Regions from separate parts of the Homo sapiens genome. Here regions 1 and 2 are each linked to region 3. The links are contacts of gene promoters, found by promoter capture Hi-C in human tissues and cell types (Jung and others, 2019). All regions are on one chromosome and are shown on one strand. The core of a region is centred on a gene start or on the middle of the fragment in contact, and the rest is flanking DNA. Distances in the headings are between cores, read along the strand shown. Region 1 overlaps CHAF1A (chromatin assembly factor 1 subunit A). Region 2 holds the start of UBXN6 (UBX domain protein 6). Region 3 holds the start of SHD (Src homology 2 domain containing transforming protein D).

Region 1 (3,913 bases), core at 908-3,407, 140 kb after region 3:
CAGATTGCTGGAACTTCTTTCCATATACTTGAAATTACATTTGTAATAAATTCTCCATGTTTAAAAGAAATACTGGTCTAGGTGCAGTGGCTCAAGCCTGTAACCCCAGCACTTTGGGAAGCCGAGGTGGGAGGATTGCTTGAGCTTAGGAGTTCGAAACCAGCTTGACCAACATGGTGAAACTCCGTCTGTACAAAAAATACAAAAAATAGCGGGGCATGGGGGTGCACACCTGTAGTCCCAGCTCCTTGGGAGGCTGAGGTGGAAGGATCACTTGAGCCAAGGAGGCAGAGGTTGCGGTGAGTCATGATTGCACCACTGTGCTCCAGCCTGGGCAACAGCCAGACCGTCTCAAAAAAAAAAAAAAACAAAAAGGAAAAAGAATGGAAACCTTGAAGCCCTCTGTTCTCCCAGGAGGTTGCCATTATTATCATCATCATCACCTTGTGTTTTTCTGTGTCCTGTATATCCAGAGAGATCTCTAGGAAACACCCAGTATCATTTTGTTTCCTTGTGTATGACATATACTGTAAATATCTGTCTTTGTTACTCAAGGGTGTCTTAGATGTTTTTTATATTGGGATGGAAAGATGGAGCTCTTTTTAACAGCTGCGTGATATCCCATGGTGTGGACATGCTGTAGGTTACAGAGCTGTTTTCTCAGTTCTGCTGTTTCTGTGCTTGGCTTTCACAAAATGATTGTTCCCTTGAGCTTCCTTCTACAAGTGGCCTTGGGCTGTTAAGGAGAATGAGGTCTTGGTAGCTCAAGGCAATGCGTGCGTTCTTATTTTCCCAGCTTGCACTCTCTCATGCTTGGGCCAATTGGAGGTTTTCTCTTTTCCCCCCTGCCTCCGCTCCCCTGCTGTCAGGTTTTAGCGGCTTATCTGGTCTGGGCTTAGAAATTAGATACCCTTTAGTATAAAATCAGAGTCCATAGGCTCTGAGAGGATTATCTGAGAAAGGGTGCAGGAATTTTCATGCCCACACATAGTGAGCTCTGTCGCGACTCCTTGGGATTGTCGGTTTTTGTGTTTTGGCTTCCTTCTGGGATCCTGGATCACGTTTTTGGCAGTTGAGGGTGCTGTCTGACCGGGCTCCAGCTGGGTAGAATGTGGGAGTGTTGCATAGAATTTTGAGAGTGAGATCTATAAACACTTGGGTCAAATTTCAAGAAGATAAAGTTCTGTCAGACTTCAAGGTCCATCTGAGGGTTTGGCAAAGCAAAAAAGATACCAGTTTTAAATTAAGCAGTAATTGCTCTGTTTTGGTTGTTGGATATTACTGAGCGGGCTCTTGCCAGTCACATCAAGTCTGTTATCTCTGGACTCACAGCAGAGGGGGGGCATTGTAAGAGGCAGGAGATTCTGCAGCTGAGCTTCAGGCATGGGCAAGACTAAGGAACTGAATTCCCCGCCACCCCAAGACCACATTCCGTATTATAATCTCTGAACACAAAGGGCAGCCCCGGAGAGCTGCGGCTCCCATATTCTGCAGTTAAATCCCTCAGCGTGGGGGAGAGGCACACAGCCTTGGCAGGCAGAGTAGATGCTGGAGAGACAGATGCTTTTTCTGCAGCATTTGGTGAGGCTGCCTCGGGCTGGCATTTCTGTTGCCACATTCTCAGCAAAGACTGAACACCCTGGCCTGATCTCGGTGGTGAAAGAGCTCCTGCCAACACGGGCAGCCTTCTCACAACGGCTCGGCCTTTCCCTAAAGAAAGGTTTAGTCCAGAAAGGACTCAGTGGGACCCAGGTGGAAAGGCTGTCTTGAGCTCATTCATCTGAAGCTTTTATTCTGTGAGAGGTCCTAGTCAGGGGTTCAGCTTTCCCAGATAAAGAAATCACTGTTGGCCGGGCGCGGTGGCTCACGCCTTTAATCCCAGCACTTTGGGAGGCCGAGGCGGGCGGATCACGAGGTCAGGAGATCGAGACCATCCTGGCTAACATGGTGAAACCCCATCTCTACTAAAAATACAAAAAAATTACCCAGGCATGGTGGTGGGCACCTATAGTCCCAGCTACTGGGCAGACTGAGGCAGGAGAATCGCTTGAACCCGGGAGGCGGAGCTTGCAGTGATCCGAGATGGCGCCACTGCACTCCAGCCTGGGCGACAGAGCGAGACTCCGTCTCAAAAAAAAAAAGAAATCACTTACATAATTTTGTTGACCCCTCAGACCATTGCCAGGAAAATGGGCCTTTGGTTTTTCAGTCAACTTCAGTCTTACACTGCAAGTCTGCAATGAACCCGGAGAACTATTTCTTCCCACTCTTAAGCGTCTCTTCCCATTGCTCTTCACTTCTACTAGTTTGGTTTTCAGGATTCCCTGCCCCGGTGGGAGATAGCTTAGGCCAAAGTCCAGACTCCCTGTTCGTCTTCCTTCCTGGGACCATTTAGGTGGATGGTGAGTCACACCATGGATCCTATTGGTAATTCCTAGTAGCTCATGCTCAGTTTGAAGGTAGGTGATAGAAAATATTGTGCCCTAGAAGGTAGAAGTCCTAGAAAACCCCAGCAAGTTTCCCTTTTGTCTTAAGCTTTCACTCCACATTCTAAAAAGCAGAGTTGGCTGGGCGCGGTGGCTCACGCCTGAATTCCTAGCACTTTGGGAGGCGAGGCGGGTGGATCACCTGAGGTCAGGAGTTCGAGACCAGCCTGGCCAACATGATGAAACCCCTATCTCCACTAAAAATACAAAAATTAGCCAGGTGTGGTGGCACACGCCTATAATCCCAGCTACTCAAGAAGCTGAGGCAGGAGAATCGCTTGAACTTGGGAGGTAGAGGTTGCAGTGAGCCGAGATCGTGGCACTCGCTGCACTCCAGCCTCTGTGACAGGAGTAAGACTCCATCTCAAAAATAACATTAAAATAAAAAGCAGAGTTGAGCTAGACAGAATGTAAATTAGTGGTGCACAGGAAACCAGCCTGGAGACATGTTTTATTTGATTAATTTAGTATCTTTTTATTTTTTTTTTAGACAGTCTCACTCTGTCACCCAGGTTGGACAGCTCAGTGCAGCCTCAACCTCCCGGGCTCCTCCCACCCCAGACTCCTGGGTAGCTAGGACTACAGATGTGCACCACAACACCCGACTAACTAAAAGCTTTTTTTAGAGACAGGGTCTTGCTTTATTGCCCAGGCTGGTCTTGAACTCCTGGGCTCAAGTGATCCTCCCGCCTTGACCTCCCAAAGTGCTGGGATTACAGGCATGAGCCACTGTGCCCGTCTGTGTCCATTTTTAAACACCTAAAAAAATTCATATGAAATTCCTAATATCAGCTTCTCTTGGAGAAATTGGAAGGACCAGCAAATAGGGATCTATATTCCTGTAAGAACTCCATCTCCTTTGGACAGGCAGGTCCTCTCTCCTTTGCTACAAATCCATCCTCTCCCTGTCGCCCAGGCCAGCTGTCGCTTTTTTTTTTTTTTTTTTTTTAAGACAGAGTCTCACCCTGTTGCCCAGGCAGGAGTATGGTGGCGCAATCTCGGCTCACTGCAACCTCCTTCTCCTGGGTTCAAGCGATTCTTCTGCCTCAGCCTCCTGAGTAGGTGGGATTACAGGCACCTGCCACCACGCTCGGCTAATTTTTGTATTTTTAGTAGAGATGGGGTTTTGCCACGTTGGCCAGGCTGGTCTCGAACTCCTGACCTCAGGTGATCTGTCTGCCTCGGCCTCCCAAAGTGCTGGAATTACAGGCGTTAGCCACCGCGCCCAGCCTTGTCTGTTGCCTTTATTTCTGAGCTTGCCTTGTTTTTCTTGTGCTTGGTGTCCTTCACTCATTTCTTTATCTGCCTCCGTAGTCTCTCTTGTTATCTAATCCCAGATACACACATGTATGCACACTTACTGGAGTTTGTGACCCTATTATGACATTTTGGTTCTGTTGGTGGAAAAACTGATCACCTGGAAAGGT
Region 2 (4,122 bases), core at 959-3,458, 180 kb after region 3:
CTAAAGCTTCCCTTGGCCAGAGAGCCCTTCCCAGCCTGGCCCACTGCCCTCCCGTGGCCTGTCTCCCCTGGGCTCCCCGCAGTTCTTCCCACACCCCAGCTGCTCCCCACTGCAGGCCCCTGCACTGTCTGCACCTTCTGCCCAGAATGTTCTCCGGGGGAGTGGGAGGAGGATGGGGGTCTGGAAAGGGCTAGAGCTGCCGCAGGGAGAGAAGGAGGGGCAGATTTCCCCACAGCTGAGTCTCACTGTGTCCTGGGAGAGGCCTTCCCAAACCACCTGACGGCCCCTGCTCACCCTCCTTGGAGGCCCTGGGCACTCATCCAAGCACTCATCGCCTGAGCGCTCATCCAAGGTCTGTTGGTTTATTTGTCCATCGGCTCCCTCTAGAAGGTGAGCCCTGGGACAGCAGAGGCCTTCTCCTGTCCACCACTGCAGCCTAAAACAGGACTTGGTGCCCACCCACCCCACACACCCTGGATATGCAGTCTCGCTCCACAAGGGACCTCCGCACCGCTTCCTTTCCCAACCTTCCCCTCCAACCTTCCCCTCTCCGCCCAGGCTCTGGGCTGATCCAGCCATCACCCCGATACCCTGCATCCTTCCTATCATGCCCAGTCCCAGTGGCCCCAGCACCCCCCACCCACTATTGGTTGAATCAATGAAGGGCTCCCCCGATTTGCCCCCTTCTCTCCCTGACCCCTCTCCCTCCCTCACTCAGCCTTTGCTCTCCTGCTCTCCCCCAGGAACCCTGACGTCCTCACTATGCCCCTACCTCCATCACCACCCCACTGCCCCGTGATTCCTGACCCCCACTTCCTGCCACCTCCCTGCCTCTCCCAGCCCCCACTCCCTCACAATCCCTTCCACTATTGCTTACAGACCCGTGTCCTGGCTGCCTGGCTGACTTCCTCAGTCCCTCTCCATCAGTCCCCACCACCCTCTGGCCAGCCAGCTCCCTGCAGCGGCCCCAGCTCTCCAGTTTCCCTTTTCTCAACCCAACAGCCCTCAGCCTTGCACCTTCCCTAGCTCCACTTCTTCCCCGGCCCTCCCAGCTGGCTCAGCCCTGCTCAGGCCCTTCTCTCCAAGTCCTCCCTAGACAATCCGGAAGCCTGCCCGGCATCTATCTCCTTTCCCCTCCTCTCCCACTTCCATAATCCACTTGGCACAGTGACGTGGCAGAGAAGCCTCGCAGAGAAGCTCTTTCTCCCAGCCTGCTAAGACGCGTCTGTCTCACCCGTCTTCTCCTCTCAGGCCCCTCCCGGGTAAGAGTCCATCTGTCAGAATCCCTCACCTCCACTCTCCTCACACACCTTCCTCAGCCCCTCCCTCTCAATTCGCCAGGACATCCCAGGTCACTGACGACGCTGCCCACCCCGGCCTCCCTGGCCTTCCAGACTCTTTCTAGTCTCCCATCAGCCTCCCACGTGCTCCAGATACCAAATCCAGAACCCCTCTTCCCATGGATACCTCAAAACAACTCTTCACCACCCCACCCCACAGCTGTGCGTCCTCCTCCAAGCTCAGCTCCCATCCATGGTCACCTAGATTGCCCCAAATCATCCCGGCCTCTTCGGCCAGCCGGGTCCCCAGACAGAGCTCTCCCTCACCACCCGGCTCAGGACTCATGATCCCGTTTTTCCCCAAAGGTCGTTCCACTGACCCCCAACTGCCTACAGCCCCGTCGCCCTAATCCCCCGCCACTGCATCGGACCCTCCTGCGGCCCCGCCCCCGAGACCTCCCCTCCCGCCCCGCCCCCTGCGCTAGTTCCCCTCCCCTCGCCTCCCCCGCCGCGCCCCCGGGTCATACCCGCCCCCTCCTGCCCCGCCCCCAGATCTCTCTCCCCTCCCCCTGACGCCCACCCTCGGCCCGACTTCGTCCGCCCCCGGCGCCTCTCCCCCTCCCCTGACCCTCGCGTGCCGCTCCCAGCCCCTCATCCTCTCCGATCTCCCGAGCCGCCCAAGGCCCCAGATCTCTCTCCCCGGCCGTCCCCGCCCCGCAGGGCCTCAAGCCCCTGCGTTCCTCACGCACCCCACGGACTCTTTGAGCTTCTGACCGGGTCCCGCGCTCTTGAACTTGATGTCGGCCTTGAACTCCTGAAAGAATTTCTTCATGGTGGCGGCTGGCCCGGCGGCGGGGGGCCGCGGGGGCGGGGGGGCACGGGGCCCAGTCGGGGACGGGGCCGCCGGAGACCAGCCACCGGAAGAAAATTAAAAAAAAAAAAAAAAAAAAAAAAAAAATTTACCTCGCCGCCGGAAGTCCCGCCTTCCCCTGGCCTGCCACGTGACAATCGACTAGACGTGCCTCTCTAGCGCTCGGTGCCTTGCTGGCCCAGGGCGGCCGCTCTGTACGCTGGAGCCGCGTCTCTGTGGTTCTTCCGGACTCCGTTGCCAGGGCGACGAGTGCACCTCTCGATTGGAGACAGGGCATTCCGTGGCGCTCCCCAAACGGTGACAAACGGTGATAGGACAGGGACAGGCCAACTGAACCTCGCAGAGAAAGCACTGGGCCCTATCCCTTTCGCTGCTCAACCTAAACTAGGCGCGGTGGCTCACGCCTGCAATCACAGCACTTTGGAGGCTCAAGCGGAAGGATTGCTTGATCCCAGAAGTTGGAGACCAGCCTGGCAACATGGCAAAACCTCGTCTCTATAAAAAAAAAAAAAATAAAATAAAATAAATTAGCCGAGGGTGGTGGCGCGCGCCTCTCAGCTACTTGGGAGGCAGAGGCGGGAGGATCGCTTGAACCCAAGAGGTCGAGGCTGCAGTGAGCTGTGATCAAGCCACTGCATTCCAGCCTGGGCGACAGAGAGAGACCCTGTCTCAAGCAAAACAAAAAAAATTCCAACCTTCTCTGTCTCCCCAGAGCTTACGTGATAAAATCCCAATTCAATGTTGGGTATTGGAGGCCCCCACGATCTGGCCTGTTTTGGTGCCTGAAGCACCCCCCCGCCACCATCACCACGTACCCTAGGTAGGAGCTGTTTAAGAGGATGCACCTGGGCCGGGCGCGGTGGCTCATGCCTGTAATCCCAGCACTTTGGGAGGCCGAAGCGGGCGGATCACAAGGTCAGGAGATCGAGACCATCCTGGCTAACACGGTGATACCCCGTCTCTACTAAAAATACAAAAAATTAGCCGGGCATGGTGGCAGGCGTCTGTACTCACAGCTACTCGGGAGGCTGAGGCAGGAGAATGGCGTGAACCCGCGAGGCGGAGCTTGCAGTGAGCCGAGATCTCACCACTGCACTCCAGCCTGGGCGACAGAGCGAGACTCCGTCTCAAAAAAAAAAAAAAAAAAAAAAAAAGAGGATGCACCCAATGCACCCAATTGGGACCTGGGGATTGGGGATCCACTTTGGTGGACACCAGTTAATAGTGGCGTACTTTGGTCTGTGCAATCCACAAAGAAGATACACAAAGTGACAGTTAAAACAAGCCTCAAAAAATGGGAGTTGGGGGTCAGACGTGGTGGCTCATGCCTCTAATCCCAGCACTTTGGGAGGCCGAGGCCGGCGGATCACTTGAGGTCAGGAGTTTGAGACCAGCCTGGCCAACATGGTGAAAGCCTGTCTCTATGGGCACCGGTAATCCCAGCTACTCGGGAGGCTGAGGCAGGAGAATCGCTTGAACCCGGCAGGTGGAGGTTGCAGTGAGCCGAGATCTCGCCATTGCACTTCAGCCTGGGCAACAGAGGGAGACTCTGCCTCAAAAAAGAAGGAGTTGGAATGAGATACACAGAGACTGATGGAGGAGAAGCCTCCAGGTGAGGAAACAGCCCACCCCAAGACTGAAATTGAAATATCATGGGTTGGACGGGTGGCTCAGGCCTGCAGTCCCAACATTTTGGGAGGCCAAGGTGGGAGGATTGCTTTAGCCCAGGAATTGGAGGCTGCAGTAAGCTAGGATCACGCCACTGCACTCCAGCCTGGGCAACAGAGCCAGACCCTGTCTTATTAAAAAAAGAAAAAAAGGCCAGGCACGGTGGCTCATGCCTGTAATCCCAGCCCTTTGGAAGGCCGAGGCGGGTGGATCACGAGGTCAGGAGATTGAGACCATCCCGGCTAATACGGTGAAACCCTGTCTTTACTGAAAATAATTTTTAAAAAAATTAGCCAGCCTTGG
Region 3 (4,202 bases), core at 409-2,908:
TGCCTTGTTGGCTCCAGGCCTCAGTTTTCCCATCTGGATAATGGAGCTCATCGTGGAGAGGAGTTGCAGAACCGATTCCATGAAGAGCATTTTGGGAGGCCGAGGCCGGCAGATCACCTGAGGTCAGGAGTTCCAGACCAGCCTGGCCAATGTGGTGAAACCCCATCTCTACTAAAAATATAAAATTATATAAAAATTAGCTGGGCGTGGTGGCAGTAATCCCAGCTACTCAGGAGGCTGAGGCAGGAGAATTGGTTGGACCTGGGAGGTGGAGGTTTCAGTGAGCTGAGATCGCAACACGGCACTCCAGCCTGGAGGACAGAGCAAGGCTCCGTCTCAAAAAAATAAAAAGAGAGACTCCAGTGCCACCCTAGGCCAGGCCCCACGGCGATGTGCAGGCAGAATCAGCTGTGGAGTGGCTCTGAACAAGTCCCTCCCATCTCTGTGCCTCGGTTTCCCCATCCATAAAATGAGGAAGCCAGGTGATAGCTCGGTCCCTCCTGGAATCCTTCCTAGAGCTGTCTGGGATTTCCTGTTAGAAACCACATCTTTCAAATAAGGAAAACCAAGACTCAGGGAGTGACAGACCCTGCCCTCAGCCCCGCCGGGCTGCCAGGAGGCCCCAGTCATAGCAGTGTTGGTTCTGACTTCTGTCTTGTCCTCCAACTGTGCTCTCCAAGCTATGACCTGTGCCTGACCAGGGGGCTGGCCACAAGAGGAGAGAATCTGGGGTCCCATCCTTCCTGACCACCCCTCTCTCACTCCCCTCATTAGGAGGAACTGGGCAAGCCCCCTTATGGGGAAAGAAAAAAAACGGTTCTGCACTGGAAAATTGGCCAGTGGCTCCCTTTTCCTCTCCCACCCCCCAAACCTCTCAGTGCCCTCACCCTCAGACAACGACAGCTGACAACAGGCAGCCAGTTCAGGCCAGACCCCTCTCACTTCTGCCCCTCTTCCCGCCACCGCTCCCCCCCACCCCGCCCCCAGAAGCCACAAAAGGACAGATGCAGAGGACAGGCGCCAGGCACAGATACCATCTCCCTTCCCCAAGCCAGCTGCCCCCAACCCTCCCCCTGCCCGCAATTAGTCCTCTGGGGCGGGAGCGGGGCACAGAGCAGAGCCCTCTTGGGGGAGGGGAAGCCCGATCCGCACCCACCCTTCCTTTGCCCCCCTCTTCCTTCTGCTGCTCCAATATCAATTTCAGCCAGTGACCTCTCCACCAATTTGCACATCCCCACTCTCCCGGTCCGTTTCACCGCCAGACATCGGTTCCATTTCGACCCTCACTGGCGGTCATTCCCACCCCCTCTGCTGGTCAATTTCACCCCTTTTGGCGGTCAAGTGCAGTCCCCCATTTCCCGGGCAATTTCCCCCTCCCCTCCTTCTCCCTCTCCCCTCCCCTCCCCAGCAGTGTCACTCCCAGCTGCTCCCCACCTCCCGCGCTCCGCGCTCGCTGCGGCCAGTCTCGGGCGTCCCGGTCAGTGTCCAGCTGCCGCGGCCTCGGCCCCGGCGACTCCCGCCCCCAGCCCCCCTTCCCTCCGCGGGCAGCGGCTCCCTCCCTCCCCAGAACAGCTGAAGGTCTCAGTCACCTCCGAGGGGAGCGCAGGGGGAGGGGAGGGGCGGGGGACGCGGCGGAGGGGAGGTGGGGGAGCCTTGACGCTGCTGCCCGGGACGCGGCCCGGGGCTGGTGGGAACAGGGGCGTCCTCCTGCGCGCCCCCCTCCCCAGCGTCCCACCTCCCGGCGGCGGCGGGGAAAGTCTCTCCGAAAGCGTGAAGGGGGATTGGAGGAGGTTTTTATTTCCCTTTGTGCGGGTGGCTGGGGCCGGATCGAGGCGGCGGGGGCCGCGGGACTGGGGGCTCCCCGCTGAGCCGAGAGGAGCGCGACAAAGGATGCGTCCCGCCGGGGTCACAGTCTCCGCGGCCCAACTTTGCGCGCGGCGCCCGCGCCCCTGGGGAGCCCGCCCGCTGCGCTGAGAACCCAGGCGTCCGGGCTGGGAGAGGGGCCGGGAGCGTCCGCAGGTGGCGCTGGCCCGGATCTCCCGACCCCAGGAAGGGATCCCGGAGCTTCCTGGAGGCGGCGGGCGGCCGTGTCGCTCCAGGGAACCGCGCTGCCCGCGGAAACTCCGCGCGCCTCCGCGGATGCCCCTCGCCCTAGCCCCCAGCGCGCGGGGTTCGGGGCCCTGCGAGGTCCCCCCTTCCCCCGCGGTGCTTCCCAAGCTGGGCTAAGGCGGGCTTCTCTTCCTCCCTCCTCTGTCGCCTCCTTTTCCTCCCCCTCGTTCACCTTTTCCTTCCCTCTATCCATCCAGAGCCCCGCCAAAGGGCGCACCTGATCTTTCTCATCCTTCCCTGCTCTTCCCTTCCTCTCCACCTCCTCCTCCTCCTTGGGGAAAGGGGCCCGGAGAAGGGCATGTGGGGGCCCCTCTGACAGTGGCCCGATTGGGGTGACAGGCGCCCAAATGGCCAAGTGGCTACGGGACTACCTGAGCTTTGGGGGTCGGAGGCCCCCTCCGCAGCCGCCCACCCCGGACTACACCGAGAGCGACATCCTGAGGGCCTACCGCGCGCAGAAGAACCTGGACTTCGAGGACCCCTATGAGGACGCGGAGAGCCGCTTGGAGCCGGACCCCGCGGGCCCTGGGGACTCCAAGAACCCCGGAGATGCCAAGTATGGTTCTCCCAAGCACCGGCTCATCAAGGTGGAGGCTGCGGATATGGCCAGAGCCAAGGCCCTTCTGGGCGGCCCCGGGGAGGAGGTGCGTGGCTGGGTGGCCTGGGGAGACTGGGTGGAGGGGAGGCTCAGGATGGGCTCTCTGGATCGTGGAGAGCTTATTTTATGTGTGATCACAGGAGGGGACTGGGGCACCAGACAGACCCTTCCCAGTCCTCCAGACCTCCACCTGCTTGGGGAAGTCTGTTCTTTTTATGTATTTATTTATTTTGAGACAGTCTCCCCCTGTCACCCAGGCTGGAGTGCAGTGGTGGGATCTCGGCTCATTGCAACCTCCACCTCCTGGGGTTCAAGCGATTCTCCTGCCTCAGCCTCTCCAGTAGCTGAGATTACAGGTGTGTGCCACCACACCCGGCTAATTTTTGTATTTTCAGTAGAGACTGGTTTCACCATGTTAGCCAGGCTGGACTCAAACTCCTGACCTCAGGTGATCCTCCCGCCTCTGCCTCCCGAAGTGCTGGGATTACAGGTGTGAGTCACTGCGCCCGGTGGATATCTGTCCCTTTTCAATGCATAATGCTGGTTGTCCTTCTGCCTCTCTGACCACCCTGCTTGGTCTCCGGGTCCTCCTCCTCCTCCATGGTCATCCCCTGCAGTCCCCCAGCCCCCTCCCCTCAGCACCCCTTCCTCTTGGAACCTGGTGGGATCTTCCTAAAATAGATCTGAGTGAGTTGCTCCCCTGCTGGGCACCTAAATATCCTCCCGGTGATGCTGCCCTTCCTACCACTATGTTCCCGTTTTACAGAAGCGAAACTGAGGCTCGCAGAACGGTAGTGACTTGGCTAAGGTCTCACGGGGTTCTAGCTTACTAGGATTTGAACCCAGGCCACCGGGTGCAGTAGCTCATGCCTGTAATTCCAGCACTTTGGGAGGTCGAGGTGGGAGGATTGCTTGAGCCCAGGAGTTCGAGACCAGCCCGGGCTAACAGAGTGAGACCTTGTCTCTACAAAAAAAAAATCAAAACATTAGCTAGTTGTGGTGGTGCACACCATAGTCCCAGCTACTCAGGAGGCTGAGGCAGGAGGATCACTTGAGCCTAGAAGGTCAAAGCTGCAGTGAGTCATGATTGCGCCACTGCACTCCAACCTGGGTGACAGAGCAACACCCTGTCTCAAAAAAAAAAAAAAAAAAAAAAAAAAAGGCTGGGTGTGGTGGTTCACACCTGTAATCCCAGCACTTTGGGAGGCCAAGGCAGGTGGATCACCTGAGGTCAGGAGTTCCAGACCAGCCTGGCCAACACAGTGAAACCCCATCTCTACCAAAAATGCAAAAATTAACCAGGCGATGTGGCGTGCGCCTATAATCCCAGCTACTCCTGAGGCTGAGGCAGGAGAATTGCTTGAACCCAGGAGGTGGAGGTTGCAGTGAGCCAACATCGCGCCACTGCACTCCAGCCTGGGTGACAAGAGCGAGACTCTGTCTCAATAAATAAATAAATAAGAAGTAAGACGTTGGTAAGAAGAGCCAGGGACTC

Evidence for each region. The method cuts DNA at HindIII sites, captures the fragments that hold promoters and counts their contacts. A contact is called where the count stands out against the background at its distance.
Region 1: a fragment that was not itself captured here is called in contact with the fragment with the promoter of SHD in region 3 in 5 of the 25 tissues and cell types used here (bladder, dorsolateral prefrontal cortex, liver and 2 more).
Region 2: a contact is called between the fragment with the promoter of UBXN6 here and the fragment with the promoter of SHD in region 3, in 2 of the 25 tissues and cell types used here (dorsolateral prefrontal cortex and lymphoblastoid cells).

Annotation. Positions count from the first base shown.
Region 1 is chr19:4,414,044-4,417,956 of GRCh38, forward strand. All of the region lies in intron 3 of CHAF1A (chromatin assembly factor 1 subunit A), which reads left to right. Among named protein-coding and RNA genes, the nearest start is that of CHAF1A, 13 kb to the left of the region's middle. The HindIII fragment of the contact is 3,051 bases long and covers 633-3,683 here.
Region 2 is chr19:4,455,586-4,459,707 of GRCh38, forward strand. UBXN6 (UBX domain protein 6) reads right to left here and starts at 2,209. Exons shown (of 11, transcript NM_025241.3): 1 at 2,030-2,209. The coding sequence starts at 2,112. RefSeq lists silencers at 2,011-2,080, 2,111-2,160 and an enhancer at 2,271-2,470. The HindIII fragment of the contact is 9,046 bases long and covers 1-4,122 here.
Region 3 is chr19:4,277,608-4,281,809 of GRCh38, forward strand. SHD (Src homology 2 domain containing transforming protein D) reads left to right here and starts at 1,659. Exons shown (of 6, transcript NM_020209.4): 1 at 1,659-2,753. The coding sequence starts at 2,457. The HindIII fragment of the contact is 14,506 bases long and covers 1-4,202 here.